Regions from separate parts of the Homo sapiens genome. Here regions 1, 2, 3, 4, 5 and 7 are each linked to region 6. Evidence: promoter capture Hi-C in 16 types of primary human blood cells and fetal thymus (Javierre and others, 2016). All regions are on one chromosome and are shown on one strand. Each heading gives the region's core, a stretch centred on a gene start or on the middle of the fragment in contact. The rest is flanking DNA. Distances are from core to core; before and after follow the strand shown. Region 1 overlaps ERP44 (endoplasmic reticulum protein 44). Region 2 overlaps ERP44 (endoplasmic reticulum protein 44). Region 3 overlaps INVS (inversin). Region 4 overlaps ERP44 (endoplasmic reticulum protein 44). Region 5 overlaps ERP44 (endoplasmic reticulum protein 44). Region 6 holds the start of ALG2 (ALG2 alpha-1,3/1,6-mannosyltransferase). Region 7 overlaps ERP44 (endoplasmic reticulum protein 44).

Region 1 (3,822 bases), core at 813-3,312, 850 kb before region 6:
GTCCAGTAGTCCCCAAAATGTCTGATTATTTCCCTTTCTCCAATGCACAGTTACCCTGGTAAAAGGCCAGAGGTCTCCTTGGGGAAGGATGGGACAAAGATTCACTGCATAAATTGTTGGTAGTGTAGTGGGGTCCTTCCTCAAGGGGACTCAGCCTCCCCTTCATTCAAGGGGTTCTGGGTCTATAAACTGGCTCAAGTCTGGAAATTGATCGAGGGGCCATGATTCTCGGTTTATAATTCAAATTAGTCTTTTGTCCATTCGACCTACAAGTTTTTTCCTTATATAAATTAAGTAGGAATGCAGTAGGCTTCCTATCAATTTCACTCCTAGGAACACCGTGATTAATTAGCCAATGCTAGAGCTCTACATGAGTCAGAATATTCTGAATAGTGTTATTCAGTGTGATAACCCAGCAGTCTTGAACGTTTTTGGCACCAGGCAGTGGTTTTGTGGAAGACTGACGGGGGTGGGGAGGATAGTTTCAGGATGAAACTGCGGACTAGTACTGGTCTGTAGCCTTGGGTTTGGGGACTCCTGTGATAACCCACTTTGGACATTTGGCTCTAGCGAAATTTACCTTTTCAGAAAGATTAATCCCCAAAAGTCTTAGCTTTGTAATGATGGAGTGTGTTGAAAAGCATGGATCATGGCTTTTTAAGGGATTTCCAAAGGAGATTTTCTCTCCAAAATATTTTGAGCAGTATTGTTTGAATAAGTGTATAATAGTCTTTAGAGCAGTATTTTTGGAACTGCAAACTGGGATACATTAATTTGTTGTATTGGGCTTACATTCAACATTAATTAAAAGGATAGGAATAGAAAATACTACTGTGCATTGAATGTAGTAAGGATAGGTAGTTTTGAGAAACTTTTATTTGTGTTTCTGTTTCCTGGACTGCAGTGTAAAGTGTATTTCTTGCTGTGGATCATGGTCATAAAAAGTTTGAAAAGCCTCTGCTGTTAGATGATAACACACATTTGGATATTAACTTCTTAGAGGTTAGTATATGTAGTCTCACCTATGTAGAATGTAATTGAAAATTTCTGTTGCTGTGTATTTGTCAAAAATGTGAGAATGATTTCTTGTGAAACAGTTTTTAGTCCAGTAATGATTTTAATGTTTATCTTCAATGGAAGACAAATTCCACTGAAAGAAGGCGTCTCCACATCTCTGCTGAATCTTAGAACATCAGAATCAAAAGCAGCCTTAGATTATTAGTTCAGCTTATTTATGGACAAATAGAACTCTGAGGTCAGGAGGTAGAGAAATGCATGCCTAAGGTTACATTGTGAGTGGTAGAGCTGGTACCAAAACCTAGGTCTCTTGACTCCCAACTCATAGACTGCAGAAGGTCAATTGTAGTTTAATCATAATCTCAACTAATTCTATGTAACAGTTATAAAAGCAAGCTTTTATGAGAGTTCATATTCAGAAGAAAACAATGACCAATTGTTTAGTTTTTTTAAAAAAAACTTGATCATGCATTACTTTTAAAATTCTCTTTGGCTATAGAATGTGAAATTCTTAATTTGAATTATGTAAGCTTATACTCTCTTTGAAACCGTACTTGGGAAGTTTTGAGTTTGTTACAGGGTACTTATTTTTAAATCATCTGCCTCTTGACTGAAATGAACTGTTACCAGATCCAAATCACCACTTAAAATTGCTTGAAATGTTTGTCAACTGCTTCATTAAAGCCCAAAGGCAGCATATATTCAGTGGGCAATTTTGAAGAGTCAGCATGAAGTTCAAACATTAGGAAATTAAGGACATCCTATACCTCATTATTTTAATTAATACATGTTATAAAAATCTAAAATTCAGAAGGATTCAACGTTTGAAGGTTGTGGATGACTCAGGGACTTGGAAGATTGCCCTTCTTACCTCTAAGGTTGATTGACTGCCTCAAAACTCCAGAAGATAGAGAGTTAGAGAACTTTTTGTAATCCCAGCACTTCGAGAGGCAGAGTGGGCAGATCACCTGAGGTCAGGAGTTTGAGACCAGCCTGGCCAACATGGTGAAACCTCGTCTCTACTAAAAACAAAAAATTAGCCAGACGTGGTGGCGCACACTTGTAATCCCAGCTACTCAGGAGGCTGAGGCAGGAGAATCGCTTGAACCAGGGAGGCGAAGGTTGCAGTGAGCCAAGATCGCTCCATTGCACTCCAGCTTGGACAACAAGAGCAAAACTCTATCTCAAAAGAAGAAAAGAGAGAGTTAGAGAACTTTTTTGTTTTTTAGTTCTGTTTTTTAGAAAAATGAGTTCTCTTCCTTTGTCCCTGCTTGTTGGTCTTTTCTCTCTACCTCCCAAATGGTTTTGAGGATTAAAGTAAACAGTATATTCCTAATTGTGCCAATGCTTACTTCTTCTTTCTGTACCTCCATCTCACAGCAAGTACAAAAGTGAGGACAGACATGAGCAAAGGAGATAGATTCCTAAATTCAGATTTCCTTTTAACACACCAAGGTCATTCTCTGATTAGCTTTTTGGTAAAAGTGCTTAGAAAGCTGAACTACTATGTGGTAGTAATGAAGATCAACCTTAGTGACCCTTAATATATAAGAAAGCTTTGAGACTGTCACTGGGAGTATTTTAGACTAAATGAAAGATAAATCTGTTTGCTTTACAAAGCTAATTCAAACAGTATGTGTGGCAGATGGGACAGCATTAAAGATTCTTCTAATGATCATTAATTAGGATAGGCACCTCAAGAAGTATATGGCCTCTCAAGGACTACTTCTGATTGATATTTAGAATTAATTTGGTTAGAAGTAACAATGTAATTTTTAAAACACAGAGGTTTATTTTTTTTCTGGAGACAGAGTTTCACTCTTGTTGCCCAGGCTAGAGTGCAATGGCGTGATCTCAGCTCACAGCAACTTCCACCTCCCGGGTTAAAGTGATTCTCCTGCTTCAGCATCCCAAGTAGCTGGGATTACAGGCATCCGCAACCACGCCCAGCTAATTTTTTGTATTTTTAGTAGAGACAGGGTTTCACCATGTTGGCCAGGTTGCTCTCAAACTCCTGACCTCATGTGATCCCCCTGCCTCAGCCTCCCAAAGTGCTGGGATTACAGGCGTGAGCTACTGTGCCTGGCCAAAAAATACAGATCTTTAAAGTCAGTAGTGGATTAATACTTTGGATATATATAGTAATGGAATCATTAGGGGATTTGGTAATAAAAACATTTTTACCCAAGAATACGTACAGTACTCTACTTAAGAATAAGAAACTAGGAAGTCTGAGAGTGATTCTGGAACTAAGTGACTGTGGAAAATAAGTAAGCCAAGGTTTCACTGAAGACAGTTTTTCCTTAAAGGCCATTTACTCACCCAAAAACAGTCAGGGCCACATGTTTAGTAATGAAATAAAGGCATTCTTTGACACATAGGAGATATTTTCCTCATACTTTGGAGTGTAGAAATGTGTGTGCCAATAGCAACAGCTAGTAAAAGGGCTAAAGAATGTTATATGTTTGCTGGATGTGGTGGCACATGCCTGTAGTCCCAGCTACTTGGGAGGCTGAGGTGGGAGGATTGCTAGAGCCCAGGAGGTGGAGGTCGCAGTGAGCCGAGATCATGCCACTGCACTCCAGCCTAGGTGACAGAACAAGACCTTGTCTCAAAAAAAAAAAAAAAAAAACCTTATATAATTTAGGAGATACTACAATCTGTTGAGTATAAACTTTGAAAAATTGTGTAAAAGTCAAGTGAAAACATTGGTATTTCCAAAGTTTAGTATACCAATACTATAGCTCACCTGCTATAGTATATTGCCTGAGTTTCTGAGTTTCTGTCCCTGTCTCACTTCTCTGT
Region 2 (3,449 bases), core at 550-3,049, 810 kb before region 6:
ACTGTCTCATCAACAACATGTGAATGTTTCCCTTTCTCCAAATCCTCTGCAGTATTAATTATTTTCACATTTTTGTTAATAGCCATTCTAACTGGGGTGAAATGATATCTCATTGTGGTTTCGATTTGTATGTAACCACATGATTAGTGAAACTGACAATTTTTTTTCACATGCTTTTTGGCCATTTGTATGTCTTTTGAGAAATGTTTGTTGAGATGCCATGTCCTTTTTAAAATAGGATTTTGTTGTCGTTGTTGTTGCTTGTATATTCTGGATGTTAATCCCTTATCAGATGATTAGTTTACAGATATTTCCACTAATTCTCAGGTTGCCTCTTCACTCTGTTGAGTGTTTCCCTTGCCCTACAGAAGCTTTTTAGTTTGATAAAATCCCATTTGTCTATTTTTGCTTTTTTTTTTGCCTGTGCATTTAAAGCAGTATCCATAAAAATCTTTGCACAGACCAATGTGCTAAAGCATTTCCCCTATGTTTTCTTCTACTGGTTTTATAGTTTCGGGTCTTAGATTTATGTCTTTAATCCATCTTGAGTTGATTTTTGTTTATGGTGAGAGATAGGGACACTTAGAATTTTTTTATACCTATTGTGAAAACTATTTTAGACTCAGAAATAGATTTTAAAAATTCTGTCATTATTGTGTGTGCCTTAAAAGGAAAATAAATTTGTTCAAGTTATTCTGAAACTAGAGTCTGACTCTTGTGCATCATTTCTCAACTGAGTCGAGTTTTTTGTTTTTGTTTTTGTTTTTTTACACAGTATTGGCCTCCATGCCATTAAGAGTATTGGTAATGCTCTACTCTCTCTAGGAATTTCTTCCAAGCTGCTAAAACCCATTCTGCAAGTATTGATGCTATCACTTTACTATTTGACTAACCTCAGAGTTTATTTTTTCTGAATTGAAATATATCTCTGCTAGTTAAGCAACTTTTCTTCAAAGTTACCAAAATATAAGCCAAAATGTTAATAGTGGTTTTCTCCAGTGGTGGTTGGAAGTGGTTCTTGTTTTCTTCTTTGTAACTGTCTGCTTTCCAAAATTTCGAAACACACATAGACACACATGTACACATGCATGTACATATGCACACAATTAAAACATGGCCTTGCTTCAACTTGCTTCACATCTTATCTTCTGCAGTCTTATCATTTGGGGAATTCAGGAGCGTAATTCATTATTCTCCTTGGTGGTCATGCTTGCTGCCTTGAATCTAGAAAGTCCCATCAGTCAGCCCCTGGTGGGACCAGGTTCTCTGCTGACCTCCAGTGGCCTTAGGCTGTATGGCACTAAGCAAGAGGCATTCATATGCTTGCTGGTCAGTGCAGAACAGACCCACACTTGTGTTTTTAGGAAAGTACTTTGTAATTGTCCTTGATTAGGTAGCACATGCACCCATATACCTGAGTTACTCTTACCTGTCTTCCAGTGCAACTCGAACCTTACTTATTGGAAATTGAGAAGCTTTTTATAGGAACTATATATAAATATCATAGTAAGAACAAGAAAATATGAAGTGAAGACTTTATGTGCATAGAACAGAATTTGGATGAGCAGTTAAGCCTGAGTTCTGAGTGAACTTCTAGGCTTTGCTTATTAGTTTTCTGTTGAGGTATTTTGTTTTGTTTTTTGGGGATGTTTGTCTTTTTGGGGTTTTTTTGTTTGTTTTGAGGGGTGCAGTTTGGGAATGGGAAGAAGTACATAGGCAGCAGTGGTCCTTCTCCTGGAACCAGAAGAACAATAAGACTTTCCTGTTGAAATGATCTGCCTCTTTGTATTTTCTGCCATGGATAACCATTGCAGGGAGAGACGTTGCTGAAACGAGTATGAGGCAATTTCCCCATTTGGAACCCTGCTGGGTATTAGTGAGGCAGGCAGGCAGGACCCATCAAGGAAAAGTAAGTGACCATTGGAGCAAAAATATATGCTAATTTTCCAATCAGTGAGCTGTTAACCTTCTGGGATTTATAATTCCTCTGACATCCATTTTAACATTTGATCTATCCAGTTAATTTTAAAAACCCATTTATTATACCCCTTAAGTCATTTTTTGTTATATTGTCAAAGTGTCACATTCTAATTATCTTAAAATCACTTTTGGCCAAAGCTTGTAAAATAAAAAAAAAAGCATTATGTCTGAGATTACTGATCAATGTAATTTTAAGGTTTTTGCTTCTTAATAATTAAACGCCACTGCATTATGCAGCATACCTGCTGCCAGGATGTTGTTTGAGAATGAAGCAAATGAATATCTAATCCCATAATAGTTTTCAAATATTTTAAATCTTTTTCTCTCTGTAACCAGAATTTTAAAGCAACCTAAAGATTGTAATGTTTGTTAATAGACTCTTGTGATTTTTGCCACAACTATTACAGTACTAGTCTCCCTGGTTCTCTACTACTTCCAGGTGAATTTTTTGAAAGCCCAGCTCTACAGCTCAGTGGCTGCTTATCACAACACTGGATAAAATTCAAACTCCATCAGCTTAGTGCTTAAGACCCTCTAGAGTCCGTCTCTAACCTTATTTATTCTACTCCTGGTTTATGCATACTTGCTGTTAGCACACTACTTTCTCATTGCGCCCCCTAATTCATCAAGTTTAGAAAGTTGAAAGCATTATATTGTCTCCTATAGTGCATCTTGCTGTCCATTTTCATACTGATACTTAGGACACAGGTGGAAAATATATGTTTTGTATTAGACTAGTTTCTTTGCTTCTGAGTCCATCTCATATCCTCTCTGCCAGATCCTTTGGGTATTAAAAAGTCTTAGGGTATTAAAAAAGATTACTTGACTTCTTGTTGACAAAGTAGGCACCAGCTAGGCTAGTTTACCTTTATTAACATTGAATATTGGACCTAAATGAAACCTACTAGGAATATTTTACTTTCACAGGGTTTCATATTATTGAATTTTAGTTTAAAACATTTTTATTATTACTGATTTTTTGCCAGTATGAAAGACAAAATGTTATCTGGGAGTTTTAATTTGTAACTTTCTGATTACAACTGAACATATGTAATAGTTTATTGGCAATCTGTGTTTCTTTCATAAACTGATAGCTTTAACTCACTTATCTTTTTGGTAGTCTTTTTTTAGTTCATTCTTTTTATATTCTGAATATTAATCAGTTGTCTCTAGTACATGTCACAAGTACCTTTCTTCCTGTCTGTCTTAAAAATTCGTGTTTTTCTTTTAATGTCTAGATGCTTCCTAATCTTTGTGGCTTCAAAATCTGGCAAATGTCTTGGCTGCATGTGGTCTTGATACAGGGTTGCAGGTCCTTTCCAAAGTAGACGTTGTCTCCTAAGTACCAGGAGGCCATAGGAGATTTTTCGTCTTTGTGACCCAACTCCCCAGGTTTGTATATCACCCCAGCACTCAGCAGATGTCCTCTGGAGACATTTCTCTTGCCTATGCAGGTATAATTCTCAGCC
Region 3 (3,306 bases), core at 353-2,852, 900 kb before region 6:
ACCATTGTCATATTATAGGAAACTGAGGCTCAAATAAGTTAAGTAACCAGTCTATGTTCACACTGAAAGTAGGTGGGGCTAGAATTTAAACTGATGACTCAATCATATTATGCTGAACTAACATTTTGAGATACAGAGCTACTTATGTTCCTCCCTCACTCACTCTTGTCTTTTGAAACAAATATTTAATTAATGCCAATTGTACACTAGGCATTGTGGTATGTTTTATGAGTGATACAAAAATGAATTACAGGCTGGGTGCGGTGGCTCACGCCTGTAATCCCAGCACTCTGGGAGGCCAAGGTGGGCAGATCACTTGAGGTCAGAAGTTCAAGACCGGCCTGACCAACATGGTGAAACCCAGTCTCTGCTAAAAATACAAAAATTAGCCAGGCGTGGTGGCGGGCGCCTGTAATCCCAGCTACTCGGGAGGTTGAGGCAGGAGAATTGCTTAAACCCAGGAGGCGGAGGTTGTAGTGAACTAAGATTGTGCCATTGCACTCCAGCCTGGACAACGAGAGTAAAACTCCATCTCAAAAAAAAAAAAAAAAAAAAATCACAGTTGATTTCCCTTTCTAGACAAGATGACAAGATAGAGCAAGTACATAGCATCCTCATCCTCCTGCTAATTACAACTAAAATCCCCAGGGCAAAAGGCAAAATAAATGACAGGCAGAGAAGGGAAGGCATCTTGGACTAGGAACTTTGGAACTTGAGAGACAACCTGGTGGTAAGTTCCCTGAAGCGTTTTCTGTTTGCTTGTTTGCTTTTGCCTCCCATTATGGGCTACAGTAGCCTATAATCCAGAAACACCAAGGTGCACAGATGCCAAAGTTCTCAAGAGAAGTCTACTCTCTCTAGTAAAAAGACTGGGAGGCAGGTAACTCTGCTGAGTGAACCATTTGACTATGCTCTACTCAAAACACATACAATAAAAGAAACTGCACCTCTTTTCCCCACTGGACACTATAGAGACCGTTGGGAGGAGCCCTGTCAAACTATCAATGCCCCGAATTAAGCAAAGGATAGCAATGAGGTAGTATTTTACCCCTTTCCAATTAGAGAGTAGGAGATAGGAATATGGAGAGGACAAAGTTGGAGGAAGTAATTCTTTAAATTGGTACAAAAAGTCAGGACACTTTTGAGCAGCCCATGTGTGAAACTGGTCAGAATCAAGATAGCAAAAGCTCTGAGAATTGAACTATAGTTAGATCATTGCCTTGGTTCTAAATGGGCCTGAGCAGCCCAGAGGTGGGGCAAACCAGAAGAGCCCTGCAAGATCTCTGAAAACTAACTTGAAATTTGAACCACAAAATTGAAAGAGAATGTTCATTCTAAACCTTGACAGATTGTCCGTTTACTAAAGTAAGATATTTAAATAGGATCCAGAGTCTCATAATACAGAAAATGTCAAAGATATAATCCAAAATTATGAAACAACTCAAAAGTTTGGAAAATATTAATTTAAACAAGAAAAGATAATCAACAGGCACTGACACTGTGATGACACAGATATATTAGAATTATATGACAAGAATTTTAAAACAACTCTCAAAAAAGTGCTCCAACAACCAACTATGAACACTCATGAAACAAATAGAACATCAGGAATGAAAAAAGAGAAGCAGAATGTAAATATGTGAGAAACATAATAGACTGTTTTTAACCTCTTTAGTTTTTTTTTTTTTTTTAATGAGGGTCTCACTGTGTTGCCCAGGCTGGTCTTGAACTCCTGGGCTAAAGCAATCCTCCCTGCCTCAGCCTCCTGAGTAGCTGGGGCTACAGTGCATGCCTGGCTTATCCTCTTTAATTTTTAGAGTTATGTTTCGATGATTGAAAGCAAAGATAACCTTGCTGTATGATGTGGTTCTCAGTTTATGTAGAGGTGATTTTTAAGATAACTATATCAAAAAGAAGGGTAAAGGGACCTAATTAGTGATAAGGCTTCTATGTTGTACTCAAAGTGGAAAATACAGACTGTGATAAAATAAGTATACATATTCTAATACCTAGAACAATCATACACACACACACACACACACACACACACACACACACACTCAGAAACAAATAAAAAACCTCCAATGAAAACAAACTATACAAAGAGATTTATTTAAAAACACAACATAGACCCAGCAGGGTGGCTCACGCCTATAATCCCAACATTTTGGGAGGCTGAGGTGGGCGGATCACTTGAGGCCTAGAGTTCAAGACCAGCCTGGCCAACATGGCAAAAACCCGTCTCTACTAAAAATACAAAAATTAGCCGGGTGTGGTGGTGGCACATGCCTGTAATACCAGCTACTTGGGAGGCTGAGGCATGAGAATCACTTAAACCCAGGAGGTGGAGGTTGCAGTGAGCTGAGATTGCACCACTGCACTCCAGCCTGGGTAACAGAACAAAAACCACAATATAAGATACCACTTCACATACACTAGGATGGTTATAATAAAAAATATACATAATAACAAGTATTAATGAGAATATGGAGAAATCAAAATCCTCATATACTACTGGTGGGAATCTAAAATGGTAGAGTCACTTTGGAAAATATTCTGGAAGTTCCTCAAAACATTAAGTAACCATTTGACCCAGCAATTCCAATCCCAAGTATGTACCCAAGAGAAACGAAGACATATGTCCACACAAAAACTGGTACACAAATATCCATTGCAGTATTATTCATGAGAGCCAAAAGGTGGAAATAATGCAAGTATCCATAAGCTATTCATCAACTGACGAATGGTTAAACAAAATGTTGTATAGCTCTACAGTGGAATATTACTCAGCAAAAGGAATGAAGGTCTAGTATATGCTCAACATGGATGAACCTTGAAAACATTATGCTAAGCAAAAGAAGCCAGTCAAAAAATACCACATATTATATAATTATATTTATGTGAAATATCTGGCACTGGCATATCTATAGAGACAGAAAGTAGATGAGTAGTTGCCTAGGACTGGGGGTTGGGCACAAATTTGAAGAGTAACAGCCAAAGGGTGAAGGGTTTCTCTGTGGGATAATGAAAGTGTTCTAATATCATTTGTGGTGACGTTTGTCCAACACTGAATACACAAAATCACTCAATTGTATACTTTAAATTTTGAATTGTATAGTATGTGAATTATATCTTAATAAAGCATTACAAAAAGCTCTACCATATATAAATTAAAATGGAATACTAAAAATATTCAAGAAACGGAAAGGAGGACAGGAATGAAAAATAGAAGGAACATGCAGTGTTCTACACAATAAATTGGAAATCTTAAATCTTAACATTCATAATTACATTAAATGTAAATGA
Region 4 (3,457 bases), core at 356-2,855, 830 kb before region 6:
AAACACACATCAGGGTAAATGGAGTATTCATTAATTCAAGGATTCATCATTTTTGTTACAAACATTCCAGTTTTACTCTTTTAGTTATTTAAAAATGTACAATACATTTCTGTTTAGTCATCCTGCTAGATCTTATTCATTCTAACTATATTTTTGTACTCATTAACCATCCCCATCCAGACTCTTTACATAGGTTTTTTTTAATGCTCAGAACTACTCTGTAGGTAGGTATTATAATTTCCTTTTAGGTTGAGGAATTGAGGCTCAGAAGGGTCATATGGCTAGTAAGTGGTGGAACTGGGATTTAAATTCAGGTATGCCTAACTGCAAAGCTTATTTTTTTCTCTAACTAGATCATATTAGTAAGTGCCCTCAAAATGTCTCTGCAAAGACTTATCTATTTGGTAGATTTGTTAAGGATTGATTTAAGCACTAGATGGAAGATTAGGTTTAGATGACCCTTAGGCCCTTTTAATAGATCCATTGCTTTTGTGATGTTCCTTTTATAAATGTAACATTTCCATGTGTATGGATACACATGTATGAAGGTACAGTAATTATGGAATTGAACTTTTATTTCATTTTCCCTTTTCGTCTTTTGGTACAGGTTGAGTATCCCTTATCTGAAATACTTGAGACCAGAAGTGTTTCAGTTTTTGGATTTTTTCAGATTTGGTAATGTTTGCCTTATACTTACTGGTTCAACATCCCTAACCCCAAAAATACGAAATCCAAAATGCTTCAATGTGCATTTCCTTTGAGCATCTTGTCAGTGCTCAAACAGTTTTAGATTTTGAAGCATTTTGAATTTTTAGATTAGGGGCATTCAACCTGTATTAAGACAGGTCCTATTTTAAACATGAACCATGCTTAAATACTTAATGAGTGGCAAACTGGACAATCTAGAGAAAAGAAGCCCTTGATGTGTTTTTTTACGTCGCCCTTAAGCCATAAAGAGGCTTGCCCGCTCTTTCTTCACTAGGTCAGATCTAAATTTTTCAAGAAACCATTAATCAGCCCCTACTCCTTGCCTCCCTTGCCCTCCAGCTACCTTATTTTCAGCGAACTGTAAGAACCCACAAACCTGCGGTCCTAGCCGCTCCAGTTCCTCCATTCTATCAATTTATTGATTTAATACATATATTGAATGTTTATTAGAATACATAGTCAAATAAGACACGGTCCATGATGTCCACAGACCCCATCCTCTTATCCCTGATGGGAGAGATTTAAGAATGCTAAAAGAGGAAAGAGCCACTTGAAAGCAAGAGATTGAAGATACAGATGTGTCTCCTTGATATATTCTAGGACATCTCCTTAGGAAGTCAGGTGAGTGGGCTAGAAGAGATATATATATACAAGAAGAAATAGGGAGGAAGTATAATGTTTGCATCCTTTCACAGGCTTTCCAATATTTTTATTGTATTAAAGCTAATATGTATGAACTAATTACATGTGGATTAAACTGTTCACTGACATCATTTAAGTAAATTTGGTGGAAAAGGGCTCTGGAAGCAACAGTAGCAATTGTAGTTTGTTTACATATTCTTAATACTTCTTCCGTAAGAGAATGGCCATTCTAACCCAGCTGGTTGCTAATTCTGATTCTTCCCCTTCTTATTGGGTCCCTTTAATTACCTAGAACATAGTCATCCATGACATGATGTTTAGGTCAATGACAGAAGTCCCATATATAATACCGTATTTTTACTGTAACTTTTCTGTGTTTAGATACCTGCTATTGTGTTACAGTTGCCTACAGTATTTAGTATATTAACATGTGGTACAGGTTTGTAGCCTAGGAGCAGTAGGAGGCTGTATACCCTATAGTGTAGGTGCATGCTAGGCTATACCATCTAGGTTTGTGTAAGTATACTTTATGATGTTCACGTAATGAAGAAATCGCCTAATGGTGTATTTCTGAGTGTATCCCTGTCGTTAAACACCACATGACTGTATTTGTGAAATGTTTGGCTTGATTAAGGGACAGTTAGAAGTAACAAGTTTGTAGAATATTGTGGGGGTTTGTGCCTTGTGTTTAAAGTAAAAGAAAAAAGAAAATATAGACAGGAAGTCTTGGTTAGGAATTTAAGATATTTGCTTCTGGACTTACTGTATTTAGTATGTTTACAGATATAAAAGCCCATTTTATCAAGGGGTAAATTTTGAGGGGAAATAGTTAATTATATACCATATATTCTTTTAATATAACTTATTTATTTAGTGTGTTAACTTGCCTGTGAGATTTGATAGAACTAGCCAGGTGGAGAGGTCTAATATTTGCAATACAGTTAAAATATTTTACACAATAGTCTAAAATTTTATTATTTTGAGGTGGGAGGATTGCTTGAGCCCTGGAGGTGGAGGGTGCAGTGAGCTCAGATTGTGCCCCTGCCCTCCAACTTGGGCAACAGAATGAGACCCTGTCTCAAAAAAAATTAAAAATAAATAAAATAGAGAAAGCTAATTTTTCATAAATGTTCAAGCCTCAGTAGTTACAAATCCTAACAGTACTTTGTAGAGGGCTTATTTCAGACTTGTTTTATGACCTCTGCAAGAGATCCTTAGCTGTGTGCTCCATAATACTGGCAATTGTCTTAAGATGAATAAAACCAAAATCTATTATACATTCTTAGAATTGGTATACAGTCTTTGAACTTAAAATTGTCTTCATCTCCATTGAACGATGTCAGGGTCCATGATTAAATTAAGTGTGTGATTATCTCGCAGAGTCGTTTATTATGCCTATATCAAATGTCAGTGGGCAATAACGGAAATAAGATTTTATTACTTCTGCTTTTCATTTCTAATTGGCATCCTTCTCTGTGTATAGGTGTCGTTTCAGTCAGATGTTGCATCCAATTTTTGAGGAAGCTTCCGATGTCATTAAGGAAGAATTTCCAAATGAAAATCAAGTAGTGTTTGCCAGAGTTGATTGTGATCAGCACTGTAAGTACCTCAATAGGAAGTCTAGAAGAGACTGTCCCATCCCAAACACAGGCACACATACACATTTTTTCTTTTCTTTTCTTTTCTTTTTTTTTCCTTTTCTTTTTTTTTTTAAATGCTCTGCTTTTAAGTGGAGAACAAACCGAAAAGGTTCTAGTGACCTTGGTTAAATTGTTACTATTTAATTTTTATGTACTTAGAACACTACTTTCCATTTTGCTTGTGTGAAGGTTTTTTTGTTGTTATTTAAAAAATTACAGTAGGTCAAGCGTAGGGAACAAAACTAGCAGTGTTTTCTACCAAAGCAAATACCAAAATCAGTAAATAAGATTGAAATGTAGTATTAGAAGAAAAAATGGATTTCTGTTAGTTTTAGAATCATGTGAAAATACCATTTATAGTCATTTCAAATAAGATAGTCTCAGATTTTTGTGTGTTTCTGTTTTTGAAAAGATTCTGTTTTGAAAAGATTCTGGTTTAGACTATTTTTGAGTCTAATTAGCTGTAG
Region 5 (3,387 bases), core at 848-3,347, 870 kb before region 6:
GTTACAGATAGCTCTGCAAACAATAGCTTGTGCTTACGTAATTTTGATAGTGTATCTTTGAGATAGATTTCTGTACTTGCAGTTGCTAGGGCAAAAGGTAAATGTATATGTAGCTTTGTAGGTATTGCTGTATATTTGAAATTACTCTCCGTATAGGGGTTGTGCCATTTTATGACCTCACCAACAATGTAATAGTTTCCCTGTAGCCTTGATTAAAAAGGTATAATGTCAAATTATTGGGTATTTGTCAGTCTGATGGGTGAGAAATGGTATCTCAATGTATTTTAATTTGCCTGTCTTTAATATGAGTGTGATCAAGCTTCTTAGGTGTAAAAGTCATTTGCATTTCTTTTTGTGTGAACTGTCTTCCTGTCTAGCCTGGTTTTCTGTAGAATTGTTGGTCTTCTATTTCTAGACTATATAGACACAGACACACACAGTTCTTTTTTTTTCCCCCCCCACAGACAGGGTCTTGCTGTGTAGCCCAGGCTGGAGTGCAGTGGCCTGATCTTGGCTCACTGTAGCCTCAACCTCCCAGGTCACGTGATGCTCCCACCTTAGCCTCCCAAGTAGCTGGGACTACAGGCACAAGCCACCACACCCAGCTAATTTTTGTATTTTTAGTAGAGATAGGCTTTTGCCATGTTGCCCAGGCTGGTCTCGAACTCCTGGGCTCAAGCGATCCACCCGCTTTGGCCTCCCAAAGTTCTGGTATTATAGGCCTGAGCCACTGTGCCCAGCCCACACAGAGTTCTTAACCCTTTATATCCTTAGTTGATTCTGTGATGATGCTCACAGGGTTGAGAAGCACTGGAATATACAGCCATATGTGAATTCAGTCATATGTCTGATAGGTTAAAATTTGTAAAAACCCTTGGAGATGTTTAATTGCTTACAGTTATTGAAAACTTTTTCTAAACTGTATACTGTGATTTTTAATAGCATTATAGAAGCTCAACCTTTAAATGCACTGTAGCTTACTTCATTATTTGTTAAGACATTTTGGTTACTGGTTATTTCAAGTTTTTCACAGTTATAAAAAATGTACAAAAGGTATGCATACAATGATGTTCTCTGCAAATGTTCAGATACATTCTCAGGTTACTTTTCTAGAATTATATTTTTTGGGTTATATGGTGTGTCTTATATTTAGAATTTCTGATATGTTGTACTAAATTGCCCTACTGAAAATTTGTACCAATGTGTATTCCTAACAGTGTGTGACTATGCCCACTTCCTCACACTCTCATCAGTAGTGAGTGTTTTTGTAATCTGTGCCAATTTACTAGACCAAAAATGGTATCACAATTTAAATTTACATTTCTTTGATTACAACCAAAGTTGAATTTTTTTCATATTTATTGATAATTTGTTTTCTTGTGTGCATGTTTGTATTATGGGTTCTTGTTATGTGTCTTCTTTTCAAAAAATGGCTTACTCTTCTTCCAGTAATTCAGAATGAATGTACTCACAAGATAGAGTTTATGAACAGTGGAAGGTATTATTCTTTTGCCTCTTCATTAGTCTCCATTCAAAAGGCAGTGTAATGCAAAAGTAGATGTCATGGCATCTATGTAAGTTCCGACTCTTCCATTTACTTAACCATCATAACCTTGGTTAAATTACTTGTTTTTCTTGTCTATAACGTAAGCACATGGATTTGATGATTCAATGATTCTTTGTGTAGTCTATCTTATTTTCAAGATAGACTACAAAAGGGTATTCCTTTAGCTCCTACTGATTATAGACTTATTATTTGATTGGGTAGTTCCTTTAAAAATCTGCTAGCTTGTCAGCATGTTGCACATGTGTATGGGGCATGCTTAGCATGCTTTTGTCACAGCTTATCTGATATTGACTCTTGCTGTACTCTATTTCTTCTAACCAAGAAGATTAAAAACAGTTTGAGTTTTTGCAACATTTATTGATTTTTAGCCTAACTTTGATTCCATAGAGAGGAACTCATCTATGGCCCAGGCTGCAGAAACTTAATCTGTATCTTTGTTATTATTTTTCTTTTCTGCCTATCATTTGAAAGTCTATTTGCAATCTACTATGGAGGAGAAAAAGATCATTGAGATGCATATCATGCCTTCAAGAAATTAGTAATTCAGATGAGGAGAGAAGATATATATATAAATAATTAGACTACCAAAAGGAAAGTAATGGATGCCAAAGGTGTTTGTAGAAGTGGGTTATAGATCCTGCTACTCAGAAGTGTGATTGTGAGCCCAGGCATCAGCATCATATGAGACCTTTTAGATCACCTCACCTCAGACCTACTGAATCAGAACCTGCACTTTAAGAACTTATACCCAGATGATTCATATGCACATAAAAGTTCGAGAAATACTGCCATGGATGTTTGGAAGAAACAAATTATTTCTCAGTGGAGGAATCAGAGTAGTCTTGGAAAAAGATGAATTTGAATATTGCCTTGAATAGTTAAATGGATCAACTTATTTTCAGTCCTGAATGGAATGAAGAAAAAGGGCAGTGCCTCTCAATAACATAGTAAATCTTTTCTATCAATTGAATACTTGTTTTTTATTGTTTTATTTTTAAGAAATCTTGTTGTCTGGTTGGCTGACGTGGCCAAATGTCAGAATTGGCCCTAAAGAAGCTGGCAAACCCTTTGGCCAACTTCATTAAAACAGTTTGTTATCAACTTAGCAAAAATAAAAATCATGATCTTTAGTGGGTTCTAACTAGCCTTCAGATTAGTCCATTCAAGAGGGGAGAGGAATAAAATGCCACTTTGGAGAAGTCCCTTCTGTAATGCTGTGGGTCTTGGTTCTGTCCTTGCAAAGACTGAAATCGAATTCTAACTGCTTTGGGAATCCTTGGTGATATTGTGGTCACCACATTCATCTCTGCAATTCCTACAAACCTGAGATTTCATCATTATGTAGAACTTTGAGCATTATATTGGACTCTAATTTTAAGTCACCTGAATTTGTAGACACGAACATTGCTAATATAGTAGAGAAAAGCAACAAAAAAGCAGAAGAAACCCATCTCAGAAAAACATTGTAGTAGTATTTGAGCTAAAGAAAACCATAGGCTGAATAGTAGAATACCAGTACTTTTTCCATTTCTTCCTTATTATAGTCTAGTAGTGGGACCTTTGGTGAATGGATTTAAGAAATTTTAGAAAAAGGTTGTTAGGTCATGTTTGACATCCTTCTGGGAAAAATAAATTTTTAAAAATAAAAAAGAGGTCATTAGGAATATAGATTATGAATGCATCTACAAAATAAAATGTTAGAGTTAAAATTTCTTGTCCTATAGACAGTACGCACTCATATTTACAAGCCTGCTCTTTAGCTGTTTTGTTGTATATTTTTTTTTTTTTGAAACAGAGTCTCACTCCGTTGCCCAGGCTGG
Region 6 (3,723 bases), core at 813-3,312:
CCTTATGGTGGGTACCTGGGATAGAAATGACTTGAGCAGGTTCTCTGTTAAAGTCTAATGAAGGAGATAAATATGGAAACATCACTGGTCTTATAATGATATGAACAAAATGCTATGGGGGCAAAAGGGAAAACTAGTAGCTACTGCTGCTTACAGACAGAGAAGGCCTCAAGAGGAAATAACCCCTGAGCTTAGTCTTGGAAAATAAGTAGAAATTTGCCTTGAGATGAGGGAGAAAGTTTGTGAATTCAGAAAACAGTAATGGGTTCACGAGTGCTGGATCATAGGACAGCAAAGAAAGATTAGGCTGAAGGCCGGGCGCAGTGGCTCACGCCTGTAATTCCAGCACTTTTGGAGGCAGAGACGGAGGATCACAAGGTCAGGAGATCGAGACCATCCTGGCTAACATGGTGAAACCCCGTCTCTACTAAAAATACAAAAAATTAGCTGGGTGTGGTGGCACGTGCCTGCAGTCTCAGCTACTCAGGAGGCTGAGGCAGGAGAATTGCTTGAACTCTGGAGGCAAAGGCTGTAGTGAGCCGAGATCGTGCCACTGCACTCCAGCCTGGGCGACAGAGTGAGATTCCATCCCAAAAAAAAAAAAAGGAAAAAGAAAGGTTAGGCTGAAATGACCACTAAGAGCTTTGGTATCCCCCCGGTTTTTTTTTTTTGTTTGTTTGTTTTTTTTAGTTCAGCAACAAGTAACAGAAACTACGCAGAAGAGTAACAGCAGAGCGAACGATGGACTGGAAAGCAAACAGCCTGAAGAAAAGGGTTAAGTAGCAAATGCAAAGCAGTAGAAAGGGAAAAGGAAAGAGCTTATGAGAAAGCTTTCAAGCAGAGTTTAAAGTCTGGCATATGACTAGAGAGAGAAAGAGCATAAGAAAAATCCAAGATGACGCTGACGTTTCTGGCTCTGAGTAAATGAGTGTACAACAGTGCCATATGGAAGTAAGGAGATATAATTGAGAGTGAGAGAGCTGAGCTGAAAAGAGACTAAGTTTTGTGTAGGACGAGTTATCTGTAGGACAGATTGCTTATGGGGCCGCCAGATGGAAATGTGAGTGCAAACCTCAGGTCCAGAGACACCAGTTTAATGACATCGGTTTTCTCAAAGTTATCTCTGACTCTATTCCAGTTTGTTAACTTTCCTTTTTTAAGAGTAGTGCCCTAAACTGAGCAACGAGAAAAAAAATGTCGCCTTCCTCCCAAAAGGCCTTTAACTACTCCCACGGCCACGTCACTAGAAGCTCATTTTGCCTTTGTCAATCTTCACATGCTAGGGTCTCCACCCCAGAATCAGCGAGGTTCTGGGTCCTATCTCCGAGTCTGGAAGCGAACGAACTGCAGGGTTCCTTACCTCTGCCGGACAGTGGATCCCGCCGCCCGGGCGGCCACTGCTTTGCTGGGAGAGCGCCCTGAGGATCCCACGTTAGTGCCACTGGGGGTCGGACCAGGCTGTAGAGGGAGACAAGCAGACAGACGGGTGAGCGCGGCAGGCCTGCCCCAGAACCCCGGCCTAGACACCCACACCCGAGGCTGGGGGAAGCAAGGGAGCTACAGAGGAAAAGCACGGCGCAAAGCAGGAGGAGTCAGGGCTTCTGGGAGAGGCGGGGATCATGGAAGGGCCGCCATACCATATTGGAGATGAGGGTGGCAAGGCGCTGACGCGGACGGATAGAAAGTTACGGAGCCCCCGAAAGACCGGCAGCTGGCGAGACTGACTCAGGCCCCGCCCCCGGACTTGCAGGCAAGGTCCTCTCTGACCCCAGGGACGCCTGGGTCGTCTCACGATATGCCTGTAGACAGTCTGCTACAGACAACTTAGTTACCTGCTGTATGGGAAGTAGAGACCTCCGGCCTCCTTCCTTTGGATCACAACGTCCTTCAGAAAGTCCAATCCCTACCGAAGGAAAAATATAACCGGGGTCAGACAAGATATTTTCTCAGGCAGTTACTAGACCCTCACAGATTTGCGCTGATGTGGCCTAACTGACGCACGTACGGCAGGGCGGGGTCGGCCCGCAGTGGCCAGCTGGGAGCTACGAGCGCGGAGCTTGCGCAGAAGACCCCCATCAGGGTGCGGGGTGCAGTTGCGGCTCCAGGGCCATGGCGGAGGAGCAGGGCCGGGAACGGGACTCGGTTCCCAAGCCGTCGGTGCTGTTCCTCCACCCAGACCTGGGCGTGGGCGGCGCTGAGCGGCTGGTGTTGGACGCGGCGCTGGCGCTGCAGGCGCGCGGGTGTAGCGTGAAGATCTGGACAGCGCACTACGACCCGGGCCACTGTTTCGCCGAGAGCCGCGAGCTACCGGTGCGCTGTGCCGGGGACTGGCTGCCGCGAGGCCTGGGCTGGGGCGGCCGCGGCGCCGCCGTCTGCGCCTACGTGCGCATGGTTTTCCTGGCGCTCTACGTGCTGTTCCTCGCCGACGAGGAGTTCGACGTGGTAGTGTGCGACCAGGTGAGGCGGCCGCGGGGCCGGCTGCGCGAGTGCGGACCTCGCCGTGGAGGGCGGCCGCGGGCATGACCCCTGAGAGAAGACCTTCCCTGTCTGCGGTTCGCAAAGATCGGAACTGACATGGAGAAGTCAGGGTTGTGAGCGAGCCTGTGGTTCTCTAACTTTAGTGTGGGCCCATTTAAAGTTGCAGATTGCTGGGGTTCCATCCTCCAGGAAGTTTTCATCCAGGTGCCCTGAGGTGGGGCCCAGACATCTGCATTTTAACTGGGTCATAGGGTGATTCCGAGGTAGATAGTCTTTGGGGCTCTGAGAAACGCTGGTATTAGAAGTCAGCTTCAGTCACCTTTTACTAATGAGTAACTCGCGTGTTGTCTTCCCGCTTACCTGTTATTTTTGTTGACTCTCCTTTCAGGCCATTTGCATCCCACTGTCCTTGTGTTCGGAGCCAGGCCACACCGTCCTCAGCAGTGTCATGTGTTAAAAACGCCAAGCTGAATATATCATGCCCCTATTAAAACTTGTACATGGCTCCCCATTGGTTTTTGGAGAAAAGTTCAAGCTTTTTACCTTGGTAAATAATGTCCACCTGGATCTGCCCTGTAGCTATTCTTGACTCTTTCCTTCGTGCATTTTTCCCCATCCTAAAAAAGATGACTTTAAAAAGTAACATTTACTCGATTAAAAATTTAGTAGTATAGAAGGATGTAACCTAAAAGCCCCGTCCTATTCTACTCCCTGAAGATAGCCACCGTTAAGTTTCTCTTGTATTTTTTCAGAAGTTGTGGTGACACCAGCCTGTGTCTTTTCATAGGTATATCTATATCTTCTTATTGGTACATAATTGGTATTATGACATACCTACTATTAGGCATCTTTTTCAGCAAAAATTTATTTATTTATTTATTTATTTTGAAACGGAGTCTTGCTCTGTCTCCCAGGCTGGAGTGCAGTGGCGCGATCTCGGCTCACTGCAACCTCCGCCTCCAGAGTAGCTGGGAGTACAGGTGCGCGCCCCACGCCCGGCTAATTTTTTCTATTTTTAGTAGAGATGGGGTTTCACCATGTTGGCCAGGCTGGTCTCGAACTCCTGACCTCGCGATCCGCCCACCTCGGCCTCCCAAAGTGCTGGGATTACAGGCATGAGCCACTGCGCCCAGCCGGGACATTCTTATGTATCAATATTAGAGATTCACTTCATTCTTCATAGTGGCCAGAAAATCCACTTTTGTTTAAGTGTGTCATAATTAAACATTCTCCTTAAAGGACACT
Region 7 (3,725 bases), core at 322-2,821, 790 kb before region 6:
TAAATATGGAGATGAGAGCCAGAAGAAAACTTTTAATCCTGTAAAATAGGTCCCAGTTTGTTTTTTAAAAAATAAAGGACATTTGTACTTTCTGGTGAGGTAGTTCCTAGATTTATGGAGAGATCCTCAAAAGGATAGTTGATGAAAATAATTTTGTTATGAGACCCTTTCTGGACTTTTTCTGATGAGTCAGAACTTAGCATTTGTTGGGGAGAATAAATGATTAAATCTGTCTACATATCACATTTTATTTAATCATGTCTACCCATTGTAGTATTCTCCAATTACAACAATAAAAATTTTAATAGCACTTTATAATTTTCAAGGTGCTTTTCTGTGTGTATAAATAAAGAGGTATATAAAAATATATAGGGGTAGGTATTTATTAATAATGTTAATTGTATATTGGTTGAGAATTAGTTAAATAATGGAGGTTTTGTTTTTTACCCTGGATAAAACACTTCAAGCTTTGGGTAAGTTTTATATGTAAGTGTAATGGTTTTTGCAACCTTAGAATATAAAAAAATACAAAAAATTTTGCAAATCAGATTTATTTATTGCTGATATACTGTTTTTCACTGTTACTTGTGAAGACTGAAAATACTAGTCATGTTTACCCCACTCTAAAATTAACACCTTGGTAAAGAACCAGCATAGTTCACCTCTATATGTCATGAATTCAACAGCCTAACCCTGAAGTCTCATATCCCATACTGGCTAACAGACAGTGGGGGCAGATCAGTTTCTGCAGCAAAGCAGGGCATGTGGGTCCTCTGACTGTCTGGGTACTTGAGGTGGGGAGGGGAGTGAATTCAGTCTTCTGTTCAGGCTAATGTTTATTCACACCACTGGGCCTTTTTTTTCCCCCGGGATATTGCAACTATTGCATTACATGGGTTGGGTTCAAAATTGTTCCTACCTAGAAAATAGCTACAACTGAATGGAGAAGCCTGATAATTCTCATTGAATGCTTCTCTCTACAGGAATTGACAGAAGAAGGACTGCCTTTTCTCATACTCTTTCACATGAAAGAAGATACAGAAAGTTTAGAAATATTCCAGAATGAAGTAGCTCGGCAATTAATAAGTGAAAAAGGTAGACAGATTAAGGTGTTTATTTTCATCATTTCTTTCTCTCTTTTCTTTTTTTCCCTTTCATCATCTCCTCTCCCATTTCTGTCAAATCACATAAACATATTTGGGTTAAAAACTTATTTTAACACATTCAAATGTGATGGTAAGGAGGCATTAGTAGAGAGATAATATGAGGTAGTGTTTTTTTGTTTGTTTGTTTTCTAACCATTACTATTTTGGAGAGAAAAATCAAAGTGCATGAAAAGCAGGGTCATGAATGAGCATTAGTTCTGGGCACTTGCCTTCATTGCTTGTGTGACCCCTTTTCCAATGGACATTCCCAGAGATGTTGCTGAGAGAGCTTACACAGTCTGATTAACATTTATTTCTAAATGAAAGAAAGTTGAGTAGTTGTCTGTGGATTTCTCCAAAGCATTTAATGGAATTTGAGGTGTCACCAGCTTTTCCTCTGTAGTTAGGGAAGAAAGTCAAACAAAATAAACTAAAGGTACTCTATAGAGCTGCCCATTTTAGTCACATACTATCTTGCAGGTTGAATTCGACTAAAAATCAACCAGTATGACTGGAATAGGCTGGAATGAAAATGGTCCCATGAGAATGGCTCATATATCAACTTGAACTTCCTGCCTAGAACCTGATAATCTGCAAAGTAAATGATTGCCCATTTAAGGAAAGTAAAAAATTCATTATAGCCTTCAAATTTGCACTAAGTCAATATGATTTCTAAAGAAGTTATACTCTGTGCCCTAAGAACTAAAAGCCTACCTATTTTAAGTGTTAGATATTTAGGTTTTAGTTTTTCTGATCTATATTACTCTTAAGAATGTTGGGTGCTTTTTTTTTAGTATGTCACTTTTTGTGAGCTTGCAATCTTACAAAAATATTTTCAAGAAAATTTGAATTTACCTCTCAAAATTCTTTTTTCTTAAAGGTACAATAAACTTTTTACATGCCGATTGTGACAAATTTAGACATCCTCTTCTGCACATACAGAAAACTCCAGCAGATTGTCCTGTAATCGCTATTGACAGCTTTAGGCATATGTATGTGTTTGGAGACTTCAAAGATGTATTGTGAGTATTCATTTTGTTTTTTAAAAATTACTGATATGTTTTTCAAAAATGAACTGAAAATAGTTGTTTGAATATTTTAAATAATCCTATGTTGGAACAGTAAGACTTTGTTAACTGGATGGGAGAGGTTTGGGTGACTGCTGCTTTTTTTCACTATAGAGTGTGGTATAATTATGAACATTATGATATAGCCTTGTAGAAATACCAACATTAAGTGATTAGAATTGATAATGAATGCTTGGATGATTAGTGATTAATGCTTGGGAATCAATCTCTCAAAGAAAATTTTTGTCTTGTGAGAAATTAGCTCTTCATTGAGTTTGGTCTTTACCAAGCACATTGAGAAAAATAGCTTATAACCTTAGGCCAGGGTAAAGGAAATTGGTAATATTGCTGTTCATTCGTGACTTCACATAGCAAGAACATTAGTAGTATTTATGAATCTTGCTATTACTAGGCGTTTCTAATGGCATATAGCTATGAACTGTTCCAAGAATAGGTAAGCTTTCTGACTCAATTCTCAGATATTTATAGTATTAATATATGTACAAGCCTTGTAGCTACTACAGATACTGAATTTTTATCAGCTTTGTGAGGTGTTAAATACAGTGGTTAAAAATGTAGATGTTTCTTATACGAAAAGTTTAAGCAATACAGGTATTCAAGTTAGACATTTTATTTTGAAAATTCATTTAAATGCCATTTTTATCTCAAAAGATTAAATTACACAGAGGATGATTTGTAGTCCTATGGCAGAATGAATTACCCCACTGAGTTCTAAATATTTCAGTGGAGATGTGGTTGTTTGGTAGAAGATTCCCAATCCTAAAATTACCTAGGAAGCCTAGATTTGAGTCCAGCCTTGGGAAAGTCACTTACCTCCTCTGTTCTTGTTTCTTCGTATATAAAAAATGGTTAATGATACCACCTACCTAATGGGATTGTTATAAAAACTAATGAGAAATAATGATTATGTTATAAACCATAAAGTAGTGAGAAATCTTAGTTGTTCTTACTTTATCTATGCTCAGAAAGATACCATTCAAGCTATCAATTCATTAAATATTTAGCTATCTCTTCTGTATGACAGACATTGTGCTAAGAACCAAGGGTTTTTACTGAGACTGGGTCCCTGCCCTCAAAGAATTCATAACCAAGTAGAGGAAAGGGACAACCAGGTTAACAGGCAATTGTGTTTTACTAAGGGATAAGTGCTCTGACAGAGATCAACAGAGTAGTACCTGATCCAGGATTTCTGGCGATATTGATGCCGAAGGTAGGTATAAAGTTTTGTAGAAGTTTATCCCGAGGTGAGAAGGAGATGGGGCTTAGAGAAAGGTGACCTTGGCAAGAACAAGTTCAAGGGCTGTTGGTGAATATAAATGGAAAGGTGAATGCTGAGGGATGAGGTCAAGAGAACTAACACATGAAAGTCCTTACATGCTGTGTTAAGGAATTTTGACTTTATCCTGAAAACCATGAAGAGCCAATGAAAGGTTTTAATCAGGGAATGACATAATCAGATTGTTTTTTAAAGATTACTCTGGCTGCAATTTGG

Evidence for each region. The method cuts DNA at HindIII sites, captures the fragments that hold promoters and counts their contacts. A CHiCAGO score of 5 or more calls a contact.
Region 1: a fragment that was not itself captured here is called in contact with the fragment with the promoter of ALG2 in region 6 in 2 of 17 cell types (naive B cells and M2 macrophages); the score reaches 5.6 in naive B cells.
Region 2: a fragment that was not itself captured here is called in contact with the fragment with the promoter of ALG2 in region 6 in 7 of 17 cell types (M0 macrophages, M2 macrophages, monocytes and 4 more); the score reaches 11.5 in M0 macrophages.
Region 3: a fragment that was not itself captured here is called in contact with the fragment with the promoter of ALG2 in region 6 in 1 of 17 cell types (M2 macrophages); the score reaches 6.7 in M2 macrophages.
Region 4: a fragment that was not itself captured here is called in contact with the fragment with the promoter of ALG2 in region 6 in 3 of 17 cell types (M2 macrophages, total B cells and naive B cells); the score reaches 7.8 in M2 macrophages.
Region 5: a fragment that was not itself captured here is called in contact with the fragment with the promoter of ALG2 in region 6 in 6 of 17 cell types (monocytes, fetal thymus, naive CD8 T cells and 3 more); the score reaches 10.5 in monocytes.
Region 7: a fragment that was not itself captured here is called in contact with the fragment with the promoter of ALG2 in region 6 in 11 of 17 cell types (M2 macrophages, M0 macrophages, M1 macrophages and 8 more); the score reaches 20.9 in M2 macrophages.

Annotation. Positions count from the first base shown.
Region 1 is chr9:100,070,921-100,074,742 of GRCh38, reverse strand. All of the region lies in intron 1 of ERP44 (endoplasmic reticulum protein 44), which reads left to right. Among named protein-coding and RNA genes, the nearest start is that of ERP44, 26 kb to the left of the region's middle. The HindIII fragment of the contact is 1,026 bases long and covers 1,550-2,575 here.
Region 2 is chr9:100,026,129-100,029,577 of GRCh38, reverse strand. All of the region lies in intron 4 of ERP44 (endoplasmic reticulum protein 44), which reads left to right. It overlaps LOC105376176 (a long non-coding RNA gene), which reads right to left. Exons shown (of 3, transcript XR_001746547.2): 3 at 1-3,449. Among named protein-coding and RNA genes, the nearest start is that of ERP44, 71 kb to the left of the region's middle. The HindIII fragment of the contact is 643 bases long and covers 1,478-2,120 here.
Region 3 is chr9:100,122,932-100,126,237 of GRCh38, reverse strand. All of the region lies in intron 2 of INVS (inversin), which reads right to left. Among named protein-coding and RNA genes, the nearest start is that of INVS, 25 kb to the right of the region's middle. The HindIII fragment of the contact is 5,558 bases long and covers 1-3,306 here.
Region 4 is chr9:100,051,909-100,055,365 of GRCh38, reverse strand. It overlaps ERP44 (endoplasmic reticulum protein 44), which reads left to right. Exons shown (of 12, transcript NM_015051.3): 4 at 2,834-2,949. Among named protein-coding and RNA genes, the nearest start is that of ERP44, 45 kb to the left of the region's middle. The HindIII fragment of the contact is 2,542 bases long and covers 335-2,876 here.
Region 5 is chr9:100,090,717-100,094,103 of GRCh38, reverse strand. All of the region lies in intron 1 of ERP44 (endoplasmic reticulum protein 44), which reads left to right. Among named protein-coding and RNA genes, the nearest start is that of ERP44, 6.6 kb to the left of the region's middle. The HindIII fragment of the contact is 3,551 bases long and covers 322-3,387 here.
Region 6 is chr9:99,220,281-99,224,003 of GRCh38, reverse strand. It overlaps ALG2 (ALG2 alpha-1,3/1,6-mannosyltransferase), which reads left to right and starts at 2,062. Exons shown (of 2, transcript NM_033087.4): 1 at 2,062-2,457. The coding sequence starts at 2,110. It overlaps SEC61B (SEC61 translocon subunit beta), which reads right to left and starts at 1,722. Exons shown (of 4, transcript NM_006808.3): 1 at 1,638-1,722; 2 at 1,361-1,458. The coding sequence starts at 1,640. RefSeq lists an enhancer at 1,653-1,972. The HindIII fragment of the contact is 2,183 bases long and covers 833-3,015 here.
Region 7 is chr9:100,004,948-100,008,672 of GRCh38, reverse strand. ERP44 (endoplasmic reticulum protein 44) reads left to right here. Exons shown (of 12, transcript NM_015051.3): 9 at 984-1,095; 10 at 2,026-2,167. Among named protein-coding and RNA genes, the nearest start is that of ERP44, 92 kb to the left of the region's middle. The HindIII fragment of the contact is 2,204 bases long and covers 470-2,673 here.